Regions from separate parts of the Homo sapiens genome. Here region 2 is linked to region 1. The links are contacts of gene promoters, found by promoter capture Hi-C in blood cells and fetal thymus (Javierre and others, 2016). All regions are on one chromosome and are shown on one strand. The core of a region is centred on a gene start or on the middle of the fragment in contact, and the rest is flanking DNA. Distances in the headings are between cores, read along the strand shown.

The links. Contacts are between HindIII fragments. The CHiCAGO score rates a contact against its expected background, and 5 or more counts as called.
Region 2: a fragment that was not itself captured here is called in contact with the fragment with the promoter of MAP4K5 in region 1 in 2 of 17 cell types (naive CD8 T cells and total CD4 T cells); the score reaches 5.2 in naive CD8 T cells.

Annotation. Positions count from the first base shown.
Region 1 is chr14:50,531,319-50,537,770 of GRCh38, forward strand. MAP4K5 (mitogen-activated protein kinase kinase kinase kinase 5) reads right to left here and starts at 1,251. Exons shown (of 33, transcript NM_006575.6): 1 at 1,130-1,251; 2 at 624-840. The coding sequence starts at 731. It also overlaps a transcript of ATL1 not described here. RefSeq lists a silencer at 945-1,574. The HindIII fragment of the contact is 11,447 bases long and covers 1-6,452 here.
Region 2 is chr14:49,842,450-49,848,901 of GRCh38, forward strand. It overlaps NEMF (nuclear export mediator factor), which reads right to left. Exons shown (of 33, transcript NM_004713.6): 4 at 3,691-3,816. Among named protein-coding and RNA genes, the nearest start is that of NEMF, 7.1 kb to the right of the region's middle. The HindIII fragment of the contact is 733 bases long and covers 3,157-3,889 here.

The DNA.
Region 1 (6,452 bases), core at 1-2,500:
AATCCCTGAAAGGAACCGCTAAAGTAAAACAAAACCCAGCAAGTTAATATCACATTTTTATCGCCAACCAAAAACAAACGATCAAACTTCCACCAGGAAAAGCATCTTTTTATATGGGATAATGCTTGCATAAATGTCACCAATATTAGTTTGCTTACAGTTAAAGCTCAGAGACAGGGTTTCATATGGCTTTTTTAGTCAAACTCATCCATTGAAACAAATTTTTTTAAAAAAATGCAAATGTCTGAATGTCAATATTCTTTCCTGTCTATCTTCCATGAAGCATTTTTCCATGCTAACACTAGAGCATCCTTCGGTGTAATTCCACAAGCAGATTCAAATTCCCTTCAATACCATAAATAAGCCCTATTAAAAAGCCTTTAAACCACAAAAAAAGTGCAACAGCGGTTTGCAACTGTGTGGTTAGTTCTGCCTGTTGGTAGCGATTAGAACAAGCCATGAGTCGAGGGTGCTCAGAACCGAGTAAAAGGGACCCCGGCCGCTTTCTCCCCAAGAGGCAACAATAAAAGCATCCTCCTCTCGCCCCAATACTTCGCAGGAAAGTGGCCCCATTCCCGGGACCCAGTCGACCGCAGGAAAAAAGCACGGCCAGCCTCACTTACCTTATAGACGTCCCCGTAGGTGCCGCTGCCGACCCTCTGGACGAGTTCGTAGTCCTGCTGCGGGTTCCGCCTCAGGATGTCCGCGGCAGGCCGCAGCGGGGCCTCCATCTTCACTTAGGGCCCGGCCCCCGCCAGCTCACCCCGCGGCTCCCGGATTCCCGCTAACAAGCACGAACGGCGCCGCTTCCCAACATGGAGCCTCCGCCCGCAGCTCCGTCTGCACGAGGGACGAGCAAAGGCTGGTTGGCGTCGCAGGCTACGACCCCCAGCGGCCCGCGCCCTCGCGGCCCGGCCCCTTCCCTTCCGTCCCGCCAGGGGCCGTGGAAGAGAAAGGGGCCTGGAAGGGCCCCCGGCGCCCCGTATCCCCGTTCGGTCTGCGGCCCTTCCCCCTCCCCGGCCGCCCGCGAACTGCCCGACGAGGCCTCCCCGCCAGCCGGGGCCCAGGGCCGGCTCCGTACCTAATGGGGGCGGCCCCGTCTTTGTTGAGCGCGGAGCCCGGGACCTACTTCCTAGACCGCACCCGCGTCCTCCTCCCGCGCGCCGGCCGGCAGCTCCGGGTTTGCCGTCGCCGCCGCCGCCACTCAGCCGCTGCACGGCGCGTCCTCTCGGGGGCGGCGGAGGCGCGTACAGTCGCCGCCGCCGCCGCCGCCGCACCACGTTCCCCACCCGGGGCTGCGTCACCGGGAGACACGTTCCCAGCCAGCATGGGTCGGCGCCCAGCGGCCCGCCCGAGCACTCCGGCCGCAGAACCAGAGTGCCGCCCTGAGGCCTGCTGAGAACACAACACCCTCCCGACCGCGCCACCGCGCCCCCCTAGCCGGGCGCGTCCTTGCAGGGCCTGGGCTGTCTCCCTCCCACTCTCAGAAATAAGGCACACGCCTGGGCATTCGTGGGCCAACGGGCCTTGGCTAAACCGTCCCCACATTTGTCAGGTAGGCCTGTAGGGTGACGGGTAGAGGAAGAAGGGCGATGGGAACGTAGCCCTCCAAGTTAAACACGGAAAAGGTACGTTAAGGGCACCGGGCCAGAAGTAACCTGGCAGCGGGGCGCCGGGGAAGGAGGTGGGGGAGTGCCAGGTTAACTAAGTCCCGGCACACCCTACTGCACCTTCCTGTTTTGCAAACCGATCCCGGTGGTACCAGTTTGAGGCTGCACTGCACACCTGCACAACCTGCCTTCTACTTAGTTCTTCTGAGACATTTCTGAAAGTCTGAATTCCTAGGACTGCTCAATGACCTTTGTCCCTGTTGGGCACACGCAGTGTCTCATCGCTGGTATTGCACCTTTAATGAGACCAGGAGTTCCGCAAAAGTAAAACAAAGGGGTCACAGACTGGTTCTGGTTCTACCACTTCCTCAGTATGTGCTCTGGGACAAAACAGCATATTTGGCAACATCTCGGTGTCCTTATCTGCAGCTTGAAGAGGGTAAGATTTTGCATCTGACACCCAGGAAAGTGTTTATAAAGCGTTTTACAGGATAGTAAGGGGGGTTATCGAATATAAGAGGTCTTAAAATACTTAACAATGCACAGCATATATGGAACAGGAGTTCGGGGAAGTAATTTGGCTGATATTTCACAAGCTGTTTTGCAGTTTCAGTTCCAGTCTTGCTCTGAAGGTAGAAATTAAGTTGCCAGTGTTACATTATACTGGCTAAGTTATTTCTAGAGCCTCATAGAGAATTTGAACAGAAAAGCCAGATAACACTCAGCCACTGCATTTAGTGACTGAAACATCATAAAAGAGCAAGTTGGAGATGTTGGCTTGTGGCTTTGAACATCCAATTTTTAATTCTGCTCTTGAGAATTAAAATACTCCTTATTGTTGATAATTGTATAATGTATAATAAGGAGTAATTGACAATACTCCTTATTGTTGATAATTGTATAATGTAGAAATTAAATTCGCACCTTAACAGGACAGGGCATATATGTATTTTCTTGTGCTCCACACACAAAGGGCACTTATTTGGGGAACATAAGTAAGCCCAGACTTACATGCTCCATGGACAAAGCCTATGTGTTTGCTGCATTGAAAAAATTGTTGAAGAACAGTTCCTTCTTTCAAAGATTCTTGGCACTTGTTTTGGTGGGCACATACTTTTGGCTTCGATGACTCAAAATCTCTTCAAATGTTCTATTGGTATCTTAGCACTTGTTTACTGTCATAGATTCATTTGAGATTTTTTTCCTCTGGCCATATAAGCACTGATCCTTTATCTAGTCTGAAATATATTTATTCTTACATGTTTACACTTGCGTTACTCCAGGGAATTTCAGGCAGCACACAGAAAACACTTACTATAAAACAAGATAAAAATAAGTGGGCAAACTAGTATGACGTTAAAGAGAAGGAAAATACGAAACCAGAACAGTGTGACAAATCGGCCAACCAGAGGATTTTATAGTGTTTTTGAGATCAAGAGTAACCAATTGATCAAGAAGAGGCATATATTTTCCTAATGCAAAGACTTCCAAAAATTTTATTTAATGAGCCTTCTTCATAAAGTAGAAACTGAATGCCCAGTTTGAGACGAGGACAAATATCCTGACAATCCTTTAAGCATGTTATTCTTGAAATACAGCATTTAAAATGAATTAGGCAGTGAAATGTTTGAGGTCATAGGCTTCAACAAGACCCTGGAGTGCGGATATTTTATGTTGCCAGTAATGGCAGATCCATATGCTTTGACCATCAACCTAGAGGCAGATAGCATGGAAAAAGTCAAGACTCTATGTGGTGGTTAAAAAGTCGAGACTCTATGTGTCTGCTATAATCATTATTTTACTTGTACTGCAATTCATGCAAAGAGGAAAACATTTGTTTTATACTAACTCCAAAAGAATCTTAAGGATTTTTAAAATACTGGTTGAGTTAATTTTAACAAGATCAGTGAAGTGGGTTGCTTTGTAAAGAAATGCAAATTCAATTTACTTAAATGTACACTGAGTAAATTTAATTTTACATCCTAGACAATTAAGCAAACAATTTCAAGGTTGAAGTTTATGTAATAATATGTTAGTTATGTCATGGTAACTGACCAGAGAGTTTCTTACAAACCACCCAGTTTCATATGACAAGGTATGGAATAAGAATAAATATGGCTTGATAGGTCCTTCATTCCAACCTAATTGTCATGCATTCTTAGTATCTTCATGCTGACACATAAATATTTTTCAGCTTTTACCCTTATCATTATAATATACGATAATGGTTTGCCACATGCTTTGTAATGTACTTCCCTTCTTTGAAAGTTCTTCAGTAAAATGCTGACTGTAATCTGTGGCCTCTAATTTCAGCTCTAACTTTAGCCAAGGCTGAATAAAAAAGAATTGGGAGACATAAAATGCTTTATCTTATATAAAGCTAAGGTTCACAATTTATTATCCAAGACAAAATGGCTAATTAAACCTTCAAGTGTGAAAGGACAGAGCATAAGGACAATAACTTTAGTCTATTGAACATACAGATTTAAGCAATCTGGTAATCTCCTGATTAATCTGCCAACATAAACTAATTTCAACATGTAACTCTATGATTCAGTTGACTGCTCTATAGATCTGTTAAACAGAAATCAATTAAATGTTGGAAGACATTGCCACAATTATGATTTGGATTTTTAAATAATTATTATTAAACTATTGTTTTACTAATTAGGGCCACTTGTCTTTTGAGGCATAAACCATGTTTTCCAAATATAGGGCAATTTTTATATAATTTGTTCTGGATGGCAATAGAACATGTATCTCATTCAGGATTAGTATCAGGTCATTAGGATGAGAGTTTTAAAAAGGAGAGGTGAGGAAGGCAGTCGATATCCCTTTCATCCAGTTTGAATTGATCATCAGATATGTTACTGATATGGTTTGTCTGTGTCCCCACCCAAATCTCATCTTGAATTCCCACGTGTTGTGGGAGGGACCAGGTAGGAGGTAATGAATCATGAGGGCAAGTCTTTCCCATGCTGTTTTCATGATAGTGAATAACTCTCACGAGACCTGATGGTTTTAAAAAGAGGAGTTCCCCTGCACAAGCTCCCTCTCTTTGCCTGCTGCCATCGTGTGAGACATGACTTGCTCTTCCTTGCCCTCTGCCATGATTGTGAGGCTTCGCAGCCACATGGAACTGTAAGTCCAATTAAACCTCTTTCTTTTGTAGATTGCCCGGTCTCAGGTTTGTCTTTATCAGCAGCATGAAAACAGACTAATACATTAAATTGAGGTCTGGCGCCATGGCCCATGCCTGTAATCCCAGCACTTTGGGAGGCCAAGGTGGGCGGATCATCTGAGGTCGGGAGTTTGAGACCAGCCTGACCAAAACCCCATCTCTGCTAAAACTACAAAATTAGCCAGGCATGGTGGTACATGCCTGTAATCCCAGCTACTTGGGAGGCTGAGGCAGGAGAATCGCTTGAACCCAGGAAGTAGAGGTTGTGGTGAGCCAAGATTGCACCATTGCACTCCAGCCTGGGCAACAAGAGCAAAACTCTGTCTCAAAAAAAAAAAAAAAAAAAAATTGTTACCAGTAGAGTGAGATGTTGCTGAAAAGTTACCTGAAAATATGGAAGCAACTTTGGAACTGGGTAACAGGCAGAGGTTGGAAGAGTTTGGAGAGCTCAGAAGAAGACAGGAAAATGTGGGAAAGTTTGGAACTTCCTAGAGGCTTGTTGAATGGCTTTGACAAAAATGCTAATAGTGATATAACAATAAAGTCCAGGCTGAGGTAGTCTCAAATGGAGATGAGGAACTTGTTGGAACTGGAGCAAAGGTGACTTTTGTTATGTTTTAGCAAAGACACTGGTGGCATTTTGCCCCTGCCCTAGAGGTTTGTGGAACTTTGAACTTGAGAGAGAAGATTTAGGGTATCTGGCAGAAGAAATTTCTAAGCAGCAAAGCATTCAAGAGGTGGCTAGGGTGTTGTTAAAAGCATTCAGTCTTATAAGGGAAGCACAGCATAAAAGTTTGGAAAATTTGCAGCCTGACAATACAATGGAAAAGAAAATCCCATTTTCTGAGGAAAAATTCAAGCAGGCTGCAGAAATTTGCATAAGTAACGAAAAGCTGAATATTAATTCCAAAGACAATGGGGAAAATGCCTTCAGGGCGTGTCAGAGGTCTTCATGGCAGACCTTCCCATCACAGGCCAGGAGACCTAGGAGGAAAAAGTGGTTTCGTTGGCTAGGCCCAGGGTCCCTGTGCTGTGTGCAGCCTAGAGACTTGGTGCCCTGCTTTCCAGCTGCTCCAGCTGCAGCTGAAAGGGGCCAACATAGAGCTGGGGCCGTGGCTTCAGAGGGTGCAAGCCTCCAGCCTTGGCAGCTTCCACGTGGTGTTGAGCCTTCTAGTACACAGAAGTCAAGAATTGAGGTTTGGGAATCTTTGCCTAGATTTCAGATGATGTATGGAAATGCCTGGATGTCCAGGCAGAAGTTTTCTGCAGGGGTAGTGCCCTCACGGAGAACCTCTGCTAGGGTGGTGCGAAAGGGAAATGTGGGGTCAGAGCCCCCAGACAGAGTTCCTACTGAGGTACTGCCTAGTGGAGCTGTGAGAAGAGGGCCACTGTCCTCCAGATCACAGAATGGTGGATCCACTGACAGCTTGCACCGTGCACCTGGAAAAGCTGCAGACACTCAACATGGCTTTCCCATGAAAGCAGCCAGAGGGAGGCTGTACCCTGCAAAGCCACAGGGGCAGAGCTGCCCAAGACCATGGGAACCAACCTCTTGCATCAGCATGACTTAGATGTGAGACATGGAGTCAAAGGAGATCATTTTGGATCTTTAAGATATGACTGCCCCACTTGATTTCAGACTTGCAGGGGGCCTGTAGCCC
Region 2 (6,452 bases), core at 2,273-4,772, 690 kb before region 1:
CTAACGAAAGAATACCACCTTCCAAATTTATTACTGACAGTGAAGATCAGAGTTACTCTACAGGTATAATTAAAATACAAAGAAGCATCCATGAAAACAGTCAAAAATGCCTTACAACTGTTTACAAGATAGTCACAGAATACGGTGGGAGTAATCCCAAATTCATCTGAAATGACAGGTTGCAATGTAAGTGGCTTCAGTAAATGTAGCCACCATTTACGTTGGTTAGAGAGATAGATAACCAGAAATTACTAAGTGCTGAAAAACTAGTAGCAGGCCAGGCGCAGTGGCTCACGCCTGTAATCCCAGCACTTTGGGAGGCCAAGGTGGGCAGATTATCTGAGGTCAGGAGTTCAAGACCAGACTGGCCAACATGGTGAATCCCTGTTTTACTAAGAGTACAAAAACTAGCTGGGCGTGGTGGCAGGTGCCTGTAATCCCAGCTACTCGGGAGGCTAAGGCAGGAGAATCGCTTGAACCCGGGAGGCGGAGGTTGCAGTGAGCCAAGATCACACCACTGCACTCCAGCCTGGCGACAGGGTGAGACTTATTCTCAAAAAAAATTAAAAAATAAAAAAAAAGAAAGAGTAAAAACTCAGGTTAGAGTAGAAAAGGACATTTACTACACAAATAATCAGCAAAGGGCTCATAATCAGATTAGATAAAGAGCTCTAAGAGATCATATCAAATGTTGCTAAGGATGTGGAGCTAAGGGAATTTTCAACATCAATGAATCTCACAGACATTATATATTGAATAAAAGAGCCAGGCGTGGTGGCTCACCCCCGTAATCCCAACACCTTAGGAGGTTGAGATGGGAAGATTGCTTGAGCCAGGGGTCCAAGGTCAGCCTGGGCAACGAAGTGAGAGTCTGTCTCTACAAAAAATAAAAAAATTGGCCAGGCATGGTGGTGCACATCTGTGGTACCAGCTACATGAAAGGCTAAGGCAAGAGGGTCACTTGAGCCCAGGAGGCCGAGTTTGCAGTAAGCCCTGATCATGCCACTGAATTCCAGCCTGGCCAACAGAGCAAGACTCTATCTCAAAAAAATAAAAAATATTGCATAAAAGAAGGCAGACCCAATGTCATGCATTGCTTAACAATGGGGATACATTCTAAGAAATGCATTTAGGCAACTTCGATGTCGTGTGAACGTAATAGAGTATACTTACACAAACCTAGACGGTGTAGCCTAATACATCCACCAAAGATATGATATAACCTATTGCTCCTAGGCTAGGAATCTGTATAGCATGTTACTGAATACTGTAGTCAACTGTAATACAATAGCAAGTATTTGTGTATCTAAGTACATCTAAATATAGAAAAAGTACAGTAAAAATATGGTATTACAACAACAGTTCCAGGCCGGGCGCAGTGGCTCATGCCTGTGATCCCAGCATTTTGGGAGGCCAAGGCGAGCAGATCACCTGAGGTCAGGAGTTTGAGAACAGTCTGGCCAATATGGTGAAACCCCATCTCTACTAAAAATACAAAAATTAGCTGGGCATGGTAGTACATGCCAGTAATACCAGCTACTCAGGAGGCTGAGGCACTAGGATTGCTTGAACCCGGGAGGCAGAGGTTGCAGTGAGCTGAGATCACACCCTTGCACTGCAGCCTGGGCAACAAAGTGAGACTCTGTATCAAAAAAAAAAAACCAAAACAAAACAAAAAAAAAACCGCAGTCCCCAGCCTTTGGCACCAGGGACCAGTTTCATGGAAGACAATTTTTCCATGGATGGGGGGTGCAGGGGTATGGTTTCCGGATGAAACTGTTCCACCTCAGATCATCAGGCATTAGATTCTCGCAAGAAGCATGCAACCTAGATCCCTTGCATGCACAGTTCACAATAGGGTTCACGCTCCTATAAGAATCTAATGCCACCACTGATCTGACAGGAGGCAGAGCTCAGGTGAGTAATGCTCACTCGCATACTGCTCACCTCCTGCCGTGTGGCCTGGTTCCACAGACCAGTTCCAGTCTGCGGCACAGGGGTTGAAGATCCCTGGTATAAAAGATTAAAAATGGAACACCTGTATAGGGCACTTACCATGAATGGAGCATGCAGGACTGAAAACTGCTCTGGGTGAGTGACAGTGAGTAAATGTGAAGGCCTGGGACATTACTGCATACTACTGTAGACTTGATAAATACTGCACACTTGGGCTACACTAAATTTGTTTTTTATTTTTTAATTTTTAAAAAAATTATGCTTACCTCAGACCAGATTAAATTTATGTATTTATTTATTTATATACATACACACGCACGCGCACGCGCGCGCACACACACACACACACACACACACACATATATTTTTTTTTTCCTTTTTGAGACTGAATCTCACTCTGTCACCTGAGCTGGAGTACAATGGCATGATCTCAGCTCACTGCAACCACTGCCTCCCAGGTTCAAGTGATTCTCCTGCCTCAGCCTCCCGAGTAGCTGGGACTACAGGCACGCACCACCACACCAGGCTAATTTTTGTATTTTTAGTAGAGATGCAGTTTTGCCACATTGGGCAGGCTGGTCTCAAACTCCTGACCTCAGGTGATCCACTCGCCTTGGCCTCCCAAAGTGCTGGGATTACAGGTGTGAGCCACCACACCTGGCCCAGATTAAGTTAGTTAGTTAGTTAGTTAGTTAGTTTATTTTTGAGACAAAGTCTTGCTCCGTTGCCCAGGCTGGAGCACAGTGACACAATCTGAGCTCACTGGAACCTCTGCCTCCCAGGTTCAAGTGATTCTCCTGCCTCAGCCTCCCGAGTAGCTGGGATTATAGGTGCCCGCCACCACGCCCAGCTAATTTTTGTATTTTTTAATAGAGACGGGGTTTTGCCATGTTGGCCAGGCTGGTCTTGAACTCCTGACCCCAGGTGATCTGACCCCAGGTGATCCGCCCTCCTCGGCCTCCCAAAATGCTAGGATTACAGGTGTGAGCCACTGTGCCCGGCCTGAGTCATTGCGCTCAGCCAAATTTATTTTTAAGATGTTTTTCTTTCTTCAATAATAAATTAACCTTTGCTTCCTGGAACTTTTTTACTTTATAAACTTTAAACTTTTTAGCTTTTTGACTCTTGTAATAACACTTAGCTTAAAACACATATCGTACAGCTGTACAATACTTTCTTTCTTTAGATCCATATTCTCTAAGCTTTTTTTCCATTTTAAATTGTTTTGTTTTTACTTTTAATGTTTTTGTTAAAAACTAACACACAAACTCACACACCAGCCTAGGCCTACACAGAGTCAGGATCAAGATGTCACTAAGCAGTAAGAATTTATTAGATCCATTACAATGTTACAGGACCAACGTTTATATGCAGTCTGTTGTTGACTGAAACATCACTATACATACAGCGCATCAGTGCATGACCGTATTTGACTATTTTCTGGTTGCATATTAGTCCTGAAATGTCAAGTACCAAATAATTTACTTCTCAGATCTTCATCTCCTACATTCATAAGGCTATTCTAAATGGCTAAAGTCTGCCTAAACTCAGACCTACAGATAAAATGAAGGTTATTACTGGAAAATTTTATTTTATTTGTGTGGCACCCATTTCCTAGGGTAGTAACAACCTTTGACACAGAAAAAAAATGTTCCCCCACTCATGTTATATAGCACTATTACAAAATGATTAATAAGAAATTTTCCTTCACCATATCCCACAAATTTAACTTACCCTATCATAGAGCTCAATGATTAAATGGTAAGCAGCTTCATCACTTCCAAATTGAAAATCTACAATTCTATCCACACCAAGCTGTTTTGCACTGACTAATCTCCGACTCTTCAAATGTTTTCGGCACTAGCAAGAGAAAGAAAAAGGCATTCATTTAGTAAAAGTGAATTCCTAACCATTTGGTATTGGTTTATAAATAAGCTTCTTTTCATTATCATCAGGAATATTTAAAACGTTGTGAATAACAGTATAGTCATAAAGTAATAGATTGCAGATGATAATCAGAGGGAAAACATTTTATTATAAACACTAACTCTGAAACAGTGTTTTATTTGCATTTTTTTAAGACAGGGTCTCACTCTGTCACCCAAACTGGAGCCCAGTGGTGTGATCATGGCTCGCTGCAGCCTCGACTTCCCTGGCTCAGGTGATCCTCCTGCATCAGCCTCCTGAGGATTGGGACCACAGGCACATGCCACTATCCCCAGCTAATTTTTTCATTATTTGTAGAGACAGGGTCTCACTATGTTGCCCAGGCTAATCTCAAACTCCTGGGCACAAGCAATCCTCCTGCCTTGGCCTCCCAAAGTGCTGGGATTACAAGCGTAAGCTACTGAGCCAGGCTTTTATTTTCAATTTTTAAGTAGAGAATGATGGACCTATAGCAAAATTTGCTTTGTTGCTTTATACCACTGCTAAATTCCTTGTTGTGGTCCTAATGACCTCACTCATAAGCCACAACCTTTATTTATTTACTTTATTTTGAGAGAGAGTCTCGCTCTGTCGCCCAGACTGGAATGCAGTGGCACAGTCTCAGCTCACTGCAACCTCCGCCTCCCAGGTTCAAGTGATTCTCCTGCCTCAGCCTCCTGAGTAGCTGAAATTACAGGCGTGTGCCACCACACCCGGCTAATTTTTCTATTTTTAGTAGAGACGGGGTTTCACCATGTTGGTCAGGCTGGTCTCGAAGTTCTGACCTCGTGATCCGCCCACCTCAGCCTCCCAAAGTGCTGGGATTACAGGCATGAGCCACTGTGCCCAGCCAACCTTTACTTATTTATTTATTTATTTATTTATTTGGAGACGGAGTCTCACTTTGTCACCCAGGCTGGAGTACAGTAGCACAATCTTGGCTCACTGCAACTTCTGCCTCCCAGGTTCAAGCAATCCTCCTGCCTCACCCTCCCAAGAGTAGCTGGGACTACAGGCGCCCACTACCACGCCTGGCTAATTTTTTGTATTTTAGTAGAGACGGGGTTTCTCCACGTTGCCCAGGCTGGTCTCGAACTCCTGAGCTCAGGCAATCTGCCCACCTCGGCCTCCCAAAGTGTTAGGATTACAGGCGTGAGCCACCACACCCAGTCCCTTTATTTTTTTTAAGTCTCTTTGATGACACTTCTAAGTATGCCAAATTTCCCTTTTGTATGCTTCATTTATGTTCAAAATTAATTAATTGTTTCCACTAATCTTCTACTTCTAATACATATCAACTATGGACCATGAGCTTATGGCTTATGGTATCCTGTAAATAGTCCACCACCTTATATCCAGTTACCCCTACCAATTCTTTTTTTTTTTTTTTTTTTTTTTTTTTTCTTTAAGAGAGTCTTTGCCAGGAGCGGTGGCTCAGGCCTGTAATCCCAACACTTTGGGAGGCCGAGGTAGGTGGATCACTTGAGGTCAGGAGTTCAAGACCAGCCTGGCCAATATGGTGAAACCCCATCTCTACTAAAAATACAAAAATTAGCTGGGCGTGCTGGCGCATGCCTGTAATCCCAGCTACTCAGGAGGCTGAGGCAAAAGAATCGCTTGAACCCAAGAGGCGGAGGTTACAGTGAGCCGAGATGACACTACTGCAATCCAGCCTGGGCAACAGAGCAAGACTCTGTCTCAAAAAAAAAAAAAAAAAAGAAAGGGACAGAGTCTCTCTGTTGCCCAGGCAAGGCTCAAACTCCTGGACTCAAGCAATCTCCCACCTTAGCCTCCCAAGTAGCTAGGATTACAAGTGCCCTGCCACTGTGCCCAGCTTATTCCTACAAACTTTACTAATATAACCCAAAGAGAATTTTCCTGGTATCGTCTCTAAGCTTTTGATAACCTATTTCAATCCAATGTAATAACTCTCATTCTTTATTAAATCCCCTTCCTCCTATCCCTGGCCATAAGGTTCTTTTTCTTATTAACAATTAAAATAATATTAGTATATCAAATCCAAATACAATTTACTTGGCAATACCTACTCTTTTAGATTACATGTACCGTCTTTTTGTACAAATATTGAAGTATGACATGGACTGGTAACAAGACTACTCTGTAGCCTCTAAAATATCTTACAATTGTTTCTAATTTTTTAATATAAAAGACCCTTTAGTTAAGACCAATAAGAAAGAATGCTTTCTTCAAGACTCAAATACGGTCTGGGTATGGCAGCTCACGCCTGTAATCCCAGCACTCTGGGAGGCCGAGGCAGGCGGATCACAACGTCAGGAGTTCAAGACCAGCCTGGCCAACATGGTGAAACCCCATCTCTACTAAAAATACAAAAATTAGCCAGGCATGGTGGCGTGTGCCTGTAATCCCAGCTACTTGGGAGGCTGAGACACGAGAATCACTTGAACCCAGGAGACTGAAGTTGCAGTGAGCCAAGACTGCGCCACTGCCCTCCAGCCTGGTGACAGAGCAAGACTCCGTCTCAAAAAAAAAAAAAAAAAAAAAGACTTAAATACGAAACAAATTTTACAGAAGTTAATCTAAGACCACCT